Regions from separate parts of the Homo sapiens genome. Here all the other regions are linked to region 2. Evidence: promoter capture Hi-C in human tissues and cell types (Jung and others, 2019). All regions are on one chromosome and are shown on one strand. The core of a region is centred on a gene start or on the middle of the fragment in contact, and the rest is flanking DNA. Distances in the headings are between cores, read along the strand shown. Region 1 overlaps ZNF44 (zinc finger protein 44). Region 2 holds the start of ZNF440 (zinc finger protein 440). Region 3 has its middle 12 kb from the start of ZNF20.

Region 1 (2,879 bases), core at 317-2,816, 460 kb before region 2:
ACTCCTTGCCTTTAAGCAATCTGACCCCCTTGGTGCCGAGACCAGCTCAGTCGTGGAGAGCCTAACCCAGCGGCACTAGAGGAATTAAAGACACACACACACAGAAATTTAGAGTGTGGAGTGGGAAATCAGGGGGCTGACAGCCTTCAGAGCTGAGAGCCACAAACAGAGTTTTACCCACATATTTATTGACAGTAAGCCAGTGATAAGCGTTGTTTCTATAGATTATAGACTAACTAAAAGCCTTCCTTACGGGAAACAAAGGGAAGGGCTCTGGCTAGTTATCTGCAGCAGGAACTTGTCCTTAAGGCACAGATGGCCCATGCTATTGTTTGTGGTTCAGGAACGCCTTAAGCAGTTTTCCACCCTGGGTGGGCCAGGTGTTCCTTGCCCTCATTCCGGTAAACCAACAACCTTCAGCATGTGCGTCATAGCCATCACGAGCATGTCACAGTGCTGCAGAGATTTTGTTTATGGCTAGATTTGGGGGCCTGTTCCCAACACCTTGGCCTCCCAAAGTACTGGGATTACAGGTGTGAGCCACCACACCTGGCCTTCTAATGTATGTCTTAGTCATCTTGTGTTGTCCTAGGTGGTTGCACACTTTTTGTGTATTTTACAACATTTTAAAGTAGTTCCTGCCCAGTTTGACTCTGATTGGATTCTGTTGTAGATGAAATAGAAAAGAGAGCCTTGTTTCAGACCTTCGGTTAGTCCCCAGACTGATTCAAAAATACAAAGGCAATAATGTGGAAACAAAATGTGATCTGTACACTCTGTGGTGATCAGAGTTCTACACTGGGAACTCTGCTGTCTTCAGGACTGGCAATGAGATGGGCAGAGATGGGGCCAAAGAAAAAACAATACAAGGCTTTTCTATCATTTTTCACTTTCCTGTTTATGTATCTTTTTCTCTCTGTTAATAGTATGGGATGTGAAAAATTACAGTTTTAAATCTTCTGTTTGTTTTTGTAAAGCTGTCTACTTTCTTGATGAGAAGGTTTTTTTTAAGCATCTTTAGACATTTATGACTTCTATAAAAATTGGTTTATGTAATGTTATTGATTATTAAATGTCTGCTGTTGAGATTTATGGAATATAATTGATATTCATGAAAGCTGACACTGAATTCTGTCTAAGAACATTTGCAGTCTGTCCTCTTCTTTTCTTTCTCCTTCGACATTACCCAGTAGAAAGTTACAATTTTTTCTATTTAGTTGGTAAAATCTCTTTTATTAGTCTTTTGTCATACTTAACTACATTTGATCTACAGGGAACCAGTCACCAGCTTCCAAATATTCTCTCTGTGTAATCACGTAGGATAGGCTAAATCCCCCAAGTAAGACATTGAAAAAACAACAACAACAAAAATATGAAATATCATCTACCAGAGTTGCACATTAGGGACCCTGTGCCTAGAGTGTTTCTTTGTGTATGTCTTAGTCTATAAGACTGTTTTTTTGTTACTTACAACAGGATACCAGAACTGGGGTAATCTATAAGAAATGATATTTATTTTTTGCAGTTCTGAAAGCTGGGAAGATCAAGTAAGGTCAAAGTGGGCATCTGGTGGGAATCTTCTTGCTGATGGGGACTCTGTAGAGTCCCTGGGTGGTACAGGGCATTACATGATGAGGGGGCTGAGTGTCTAGCTGAAGTATCTTCCTCTTCTCATAAGGACACCAGAACCTCATCTGTGATAACCAGTTTATTTATTAAGCCATTCATACATGAGTGGATTAATCCATCCATGTGTTCCAAACCCTCAAGACCCACTCACCTCTTAAACCACTACCTTTGATTACTTCCACATTGGAGATTCAGTTTCAGCCTGCATTTTGGAGGGGAAGACATTCAAACCTAGCAGTGGCTGATTGGGTACACTTCCTCTGCTGAGGATGTAATACAATTCCAAACTCTCAGAGGGAAGTTAGGAGTTAAGCAAATACCATAATTTTTACACAAATAGTTTAGGCACACTCCACCCCCTTTATTAGTTATGCTTACGGGGCCCTCCCCTAAATACATTGTCTAGACACCACGAAAGGTTCAACATTGTGAACAAGCAGTTGTAAGGATATGCCGTCTCAGGACTGCTAATTGTAACTCTCTTTTGCACAGTAGGTGGTAGGACTTTGTCATGACAAGGACTACAGACCCACTGTAGAAACAGACATTAGGAGTAATCCAGGCAATAAGATTCACTTGCATAATTCACCAATAAGAGATATGTTCCTACTCAACTGTTATTTTAGCAAGCCCAATTCCAGCATCAGAATTCCAGCATCAGACAGTGAGTGCAGACACAGAATAAGAGTGGATTTACCACGTCATTGAATAAATGCTTGGAAACCACAGCATCATGGGAAGTTTATGAAGGTGAGTATAGGTTCTCAGTACTGTGAGTTTCAACCTTCCTTTTCTGGACATATGGGATGTTTCAGGACTCAGTGGCCTTTGAGGATGTGGCTGTGAACTTCACCCATGAGGAGTGGGCTTTGCTGGGTCCATCACAGAAGAATCTCTACAGAGATGTGATGCGAGAAACCATTAGGAACCTGAACTGTATAGGTATGGATGACATCATGTCTTCATTTGGTCAATTAGAGACATTTGTTTTGTGGTCATCAATGCTGTTCAGTGATTTGAAATATGGAAAAGGGATACAGTTCATTCCTGAACAACACAGGGTGAAGTGCCAGGCCCCAACCTGTTGTATGTCCTCATATAATCTTTTGTCTGCCACAGCTTAACCTACTTTTGACCAGCAGCCTTATCAGTCATATAAACAAGTGACGAGCACATATATGTCATATGTATTGCATACTGTATTCTCAGAATAAAGTAAGTTAGAGAAAGTAAATTTTTTTTCTTTTTTT
Region 2 (2,863 bases), core at 276-2,775:
TCAAGTAGCTGGGATTACAGGCACGCGCCACCATGCCCAGCTAATTTTTGTATTTTTAGTAGAGATGGGGTTTCACCATGTTGGCCAGGCTGGTCTTGAACTCCTGACTTCCTGATCCGCCCGCCTCGGCCTCCCAAAGTGCTGGGATTACAGGCGTGAGCCACCGCGCCCGGCCCTAAACTCTTTAATTGTTAACGTACCTCAGTTTAATTTTTAACAGAAAAAAGTGGGCACTGGGGACCCCAAAGACCGCTACTCCTCCCACACGAACCTGTCAGAGATGATAAATTACTTTTCTAAAAGCTTTAGTAAGCTGTTCTTTGTTTCTTGAGACCGACTTCCTTGTCTCCTAGCTACCTGTTCTGTAAACAACCTTCCCGCTTTTGCCGCGCCCAGACAAGTCCAGATACGCCTTCCCGCCTAGTAACGGACAGTCCCTGTTCCTTCCCGTCTCATAGACCCTATTTAATTTGTGTGTGTGTGTGTGTGTGTGTGTGTGTGTGTGTGTGTGTGACGGAGTTGCCCAGTTGTCTCGCTCTGTTGCCCAGGCTGGAGTACAGTGGTGCGATCTCGGCTCACTGCAAGCTCCACCTCCCGGGTTCACGCCATTCTCCTGCCTCAGCCTCCCGAGTAGCTGGAACTACAGGCGCCCGCCACCATACCCAGTTAATTTTTTTGTATTTTTAGTGGAGACGGGGTTTCACCGTGTTAGCCAGGGATGGTCTCGATCTCCTGACCTCGCGATCCGCCTGCCTCGGCCTCCCAAAGTGCTGGGGTTACAGGCGTGACCCACCGCGCCTGGCCAGACCCTATTTAATTTTAAACCTTAGCCTATCGAGTTAGTTTAGATTGTGAGGTCCAACCCTAGCCAATGAGGAAAGGACACAGAAGTGCTAGAAACTGCGTTAAGGAGAAAAACCCCTGCCCTACCCCGCTCGCTGTGCTCTTGTGACTGGCGCAAGCTGCACCCTTGTGTAGAAATAAATTTGCTTTGCTGAGGAATTTTCTGCCTAGATGCTGGTTTTCTTTGCGGCACCGGGCACTTGTTTCTAACAAACCCCATATCCGAGGCGGGATCCCCCCATATCCCTCCCGTGGCCCCCGCATAATGTGGGGAGACGCGGAGCTGCCCAGATTAGGCTCCGGAGCCGGGGCCGCAGTCGCCGTGAAGGGACGGGACAGGAGGCCCGGGGTCCCGGCTGCCGGCCCAGCCCCACCCTGCGACCGAGGGGACTCGCGTCCACGACCCCGGAGTCGCCGCGTGGAGGCCCGGGTCCCGCCTCAGCCGGTTCCGGCCGATTCCAGCCCCTCTCCCAGTCGCCCGGACGCCAGCCCCCTCACACACACCATTTCTCGGCTTCCAGGGTGTTCCGGCGTCCTCTGCGTGGCTCCCGCGACTAGTGTAGGTCACAGTGCAGGTTACAGAGCGACAGAAGCTCTGGTGGAGGCACCTAGTCCCTCTCGAAGCAAGAAAGCCGAGATCCTGACCGCTGTCGGCGCAGCACTAAAGGAATGGACGGAGGGCGACTGTCCCTTCCCCCTTCCCCGGATGGACAGTTGACAGGGCCCCGCCCCAGCACCCCTGATTGGATGGGGCGCCAGGCCCCGCCTCCTCCGTGCTGAGTGACAGCAGAAGCCCTGGGTAACCGGGTCCTGCAGATCATGTCTGACTTGTTCTGGCCACAGCGTCTCTGAGCGAGCAGCCTCTCTAAGCGAGCAGCCTCTCTAAGCGAACAGCCTCTCTAAGCGAGCGCCTTCCTTGAGCCCTGGTCATCAGATATTTGCATTTCAAGGCGACTTGCTCCTTATTGTTAGAAGAGGCACTGTTAGCTTCCTCATTCAAGGGGCTGTCCCTGCTCCTTCCTTCTGCACGGGATCACAAGTGTGTGCAGGGCATTTCAGACTCAGTGTTCAATGGAGAGATACGCTTGCCTCAGAGCAGGAGGGGAGCCCAGACCAGGCAAGGCACGACTGCACCAGGAGAGAGAGGCAGATGTCTTCCAGCGTGCGGGAAATGGGATGAGGCATGGCCAAGGCTTCCTCACACTGCTATGGACTCCAGCAAGGTTTTCCTTGTAAGGGAGCTAACCAAGCCAGAACTTATTAAAGATTTAGAGGCTCTCAGTACTATGTATATCTATCCCTGGTGCATTGACAGTGACTGAAGACCCATTTTTCAGGACATGCTGTGTAGGACTGAGCCAGGGAACATGATATAGCATGGCACTTTTATCTCACATATAACCCCCAAGGAGCAGGGTTAACTGAAATGAAAGATGGTCTCAGGGGAAGCTGTAAATGAGAAATTCTGTCATAGAAATTATGATTTAGGCAGGCCGGGCGCGGTGGCTCATGCCTGTAATCCCAGCACTTTGAGAGGCTGAGGCAGGTGGATCACGAGGTCAGGAGTTCAAGACCAGCCTGGCCAACATGGTGAAATCCTATCTCTACTAAAAATACAAAAATTAGCCAGGAATGGTGGCGCATGCCTGTAATCCCAGCTACTTGAAAGGCTGAGGCAGGAGAATTGCTTGAACCGGGAGGCAGAGTTTGCAGTGAGCCAAGATCGTGCCACTGCATTCCAGCCTGAGACACAGTGAGACTCCATCTCAAAAAAAAAAAAATTATGTTTTAGCCATCTTTTTTTGAGACGGGGTCTCACTCTGTCGCCCAAGCTGGAGTGCAGTGGTGCGATGGCTACTCAATGCAGCCTCAACCTCCCAGACTCAAGCAATCCTCCCACCTCAGCCTCCTAAGTAGGTGGGACTACAAGTGCCTGCCACCATGCCTGGCTAGTTTTTTATTTTTGGTAGAGATGAGGTCTCATTCGGTTGTTCAGGTTGATCTCAAACTCCTGAGCTTA
Region 3 (2,864 bases), core at 215-2,714, 310 kb before region 2:
TTCACGCCATTCTCCTGCCTCAGCTTCCCGAGTAGCTGGGACTACAGGTGCCCGCCACCACGCCTGGCTATTTTTTTGTATTTTTTTTTTTAGTAGAGACAGGGTTTCACCATGTTAGCCAGGATGGTCTCGATCTCCTGGCCTCGTGATCCGCCCACCTCGGCCTCCCAAAGTGCTGGGATTATAAGTGTGAGCCACCACGCCTGGCCCAAAAATTCTTATTTTGACTATTCATGTCTTATTTTTGCACTTTTTCACAAAGCAAGGTCAAAAAGCAAAGGAAAAATCCTTTAAGATCAATGTACTTAGGTTGAAAATGTGTTTTTTCTCAGGAAAAACTTGTAATTTATATAATTACAATCCTCAGTTTATTTGCAGCATCACCAAATTTTCTTACATATTTCAAATGTGAACTTAAGATATATATTTTTCTCATTATTTACATTTTGCTTCCTACCTATGGCTTTTTTTTTTTTTTTTTTGAGACAGAGTGTCGCTCTGTTGCCTAGGCTGAATTGCAGTGGCACGATCTCAGCTCACTGCAACCTCTGCTTCCCAGGTTCAAGCAAGTCTCGTCACAACCTCCCAAGTAGCTGGCACTACAGGCGAACACCACCATGCCCAGTTAATTTTTGTGTTTTTTGTAGAATTGGAGTTTCACCATGTTGGCCAGACTGGTCTCTAAACTCCTGGCCTCAAGCGATCCATCTGCCTCGGCCTCCCAAAGTGCTGGGATTATAGGCATGAGCCAACATGCCTGGCTCCTCTAGACCTTTTAAATCTTTTACTCATGATATTGGTCAGCCCACGGTCAAAATAATTCATAAAAGGTATATACAAAAATTCAACACCACAATGAAAGTTAAATTCATTTGTTTAGAACCACTCAAGCAACTCAGGTGTACACAGATAGACCTGTGGCAACTGGTGAACAATTAAATGGCACAGAAGTGGCTGGGTGCAGTGGCTCATGCCTGTAATCCCGGCACTTTGGGAGGCCGAGGCGGGCGGATCATGAAGTCAGGAGATTGAGACCATTCTGGCCAACATGGTGAAACCTGTCTCTACTAAAATACAAAAAATTAGCCGGGCGTGGTGGCGGGCTCCTATAGTCCCAGCTACTCAGGAGGCTGAGGCAGAGGAATCCCTTGAACCCGGGAGGCAGAGACTGCAGTGAGCTGAGATCGTGCCACTGCACTTCAGCCTGGCAAAAGAGCAAGACTCTGTCTCAAAATAAATAAATGGCACGGAAGTTGCAATAATGACCTCTGCTGTGCAGTACTCTCTTGGCAGAGATACACAAGAACTCCAATAAGGCCCTCATATGATATGCAGAACTGCCTCAAACATCATGTGACCATAGAACTTTGCCAAGGACAGTCTTTTTGTACATCTCTGCACCTGGCTTACCCAAAGATTGGACTGGGCGCATTTCTCAAGCCATTGTCTACTGAACGTTCTTTGTAGCGTGTGGGGCAATGACGATTGCCTAGGTGTAATTTCCTAATCGCTGGGGTAGGTCTGGTTTCTGAGGGCCCAGCAGAGGAACTCAGTTCACAAAAATGGCTTCCTGTAGTTTCTGCTTGATACTTCCTATTCTGCCATCTTCCCAGAATCCTCTTTCCTGACTTCATATACTAACACGTCATTTCAGATCTCACTACAGATGTCACCACCTCAAGACACTGTCTTCTTTTCCGCCCCCCTTACCCCAACTTGAAACTCAAGGTCACACTCTCTCACCCATTACTCCTATTTCATTTAGTGTGTAGAATTTTTTCAACACACTTGTCAGAATCTGGAACATAACGTTCACAGGGTTGATTGCTCTCTGTTTAACAAGGTAAAAAGTTAAGTCATGTAGGCTGGGTGCGGTGGCTCACGCCTGTTATCCCAGCACTTTGGGAGGCCAAGGTAGACAGATCACGAGGTCAGGAGATCGAGACCATCCTGGCTAACATGGTGAAACCCTGTCTCTACTAAAAATACAAAAAATTAGCCGGGCGTGGTGGCGGGCGCCCGTAGTCCCAGCTACTCAGGAGGCTGAGGCAGGAGAATGGCATGAACCTGGGAGGCAGAGCTTGCATTGAGCCAAGATTGTGCCACTGCACTCCAGCCTGGGTGACAGAGCAAGACGCTGTCTCAAAAAAAAAAAAAAAAAAGTCATGTAAATTTAAGTGTCACCTTTCTTTTCTTTTCTTTTTTTTTTTGAACCTTTTCACCAACTGTTACACACTTTTTTTTTTTTTGAGACAGAGTCTCGCTCTGTCGCCAGGCTTGAGTGCAGTGGTGCGATCTCAGCTCACTGCAACCTTCACCTGCTGGGTTCAAGCAATTCTCCTGCCTCAGCCTCCCGAGTAGCTGGGATTACAGGCACGCACTACCACACCTGGTTAATTTTTGTATTTGTATTTGTATTACAGATGTGAGCCACCGCGCCTGGCTTACACCCTATATTAAAAAGTATTTCAGGGGCCAGGCACGGCGGCTTATGCCTATAATCCCAGCACTTTGGGAGGCCAAGGCGGGCGGATCACTTGAGGTCAGGAGTTCTAGACCAGCCTGGCCAACATAGTGAAACCCTGTCTCTACTAAAAGTACAAAAATTAGCCGGCTGGGGTGGTGGCCACCTGTAATCCCAGCTACTCGGGAGGCTGAAGCAGGAGAATCACTTGAACCTGGGAGGCAGAGGTTGCAGTGAGCTGAGACTGCAACACTGCACTCCAGCCTGGGCAACAGAGCAAGACCTTGTCTCTAAAATAACATAACATAACATAACATAACATAACATAACATAACATAACATAACATAACAACATAACATAACATAAATACAGTAGAGTAGAGTAGAGTAGAATTTCCAA

What was found. Contacts are between HindIII fragments. The study calls those that stand out against the background at their distance.
Region 1: a contact is called between a fragment that was not itself captured here and the fragment with the promoter of ZNF440 in region 2, in 2 of the 25 tissues and cell types used here (H1 embryonic stem cells and adrenal gland).
Region 3: a contact is called between a fragment that was not itself captured here and the fragment with the promoter of ZNF440 in region 2, in 4 of the 25 tissues and cell types used here (dorsolateral prefrontal cortex, hippocampus, liver and 1 more).

What each region holds. Positions count from the first base shown.
Region 1 is chr19:12,275,648-12,278,526 of GRCh38, reverse strand. ZNF44 (zinc finger protein 44) reads left to right here. Exons shown (of 4, transcript NM_016264.4): 2 at 2,445-2,571. Among named protein-coding and RNA genes, the nearest start is that of ZNF44, 18 kb to the left of the region's middle. The HindIII fragment of the contact is 9,813 bases long and covers 1-2,879 here.
Region 2 is chr19:11,812,935-11,815,797 of GRCh38, reverse strand. ZNF440 (zinc finger protein 440) reads right to left here and starts at 1,525. Exons shown (of 4, transcript NM_152357.3): 1 at 1,348-1,525. The coding sequence starts at 1,350. RefSeq lists silencers at 1,121-1,190, 1,611-1,690. The HindIII fragment of the contact is 18,958 bases long and covers 1-2,863 here.
Region 3 is chr19:12,126,964-12,129,827 of GRCh38, reverse strand. No RefSeq gene overlaps it. Among named protein-coding and RNA genes, the nearest start is that of ZNF20, 12 kb to the left of the region's middle. The HindIII fragment of the contact is 9,523 bases long and covers 1-2,864 here.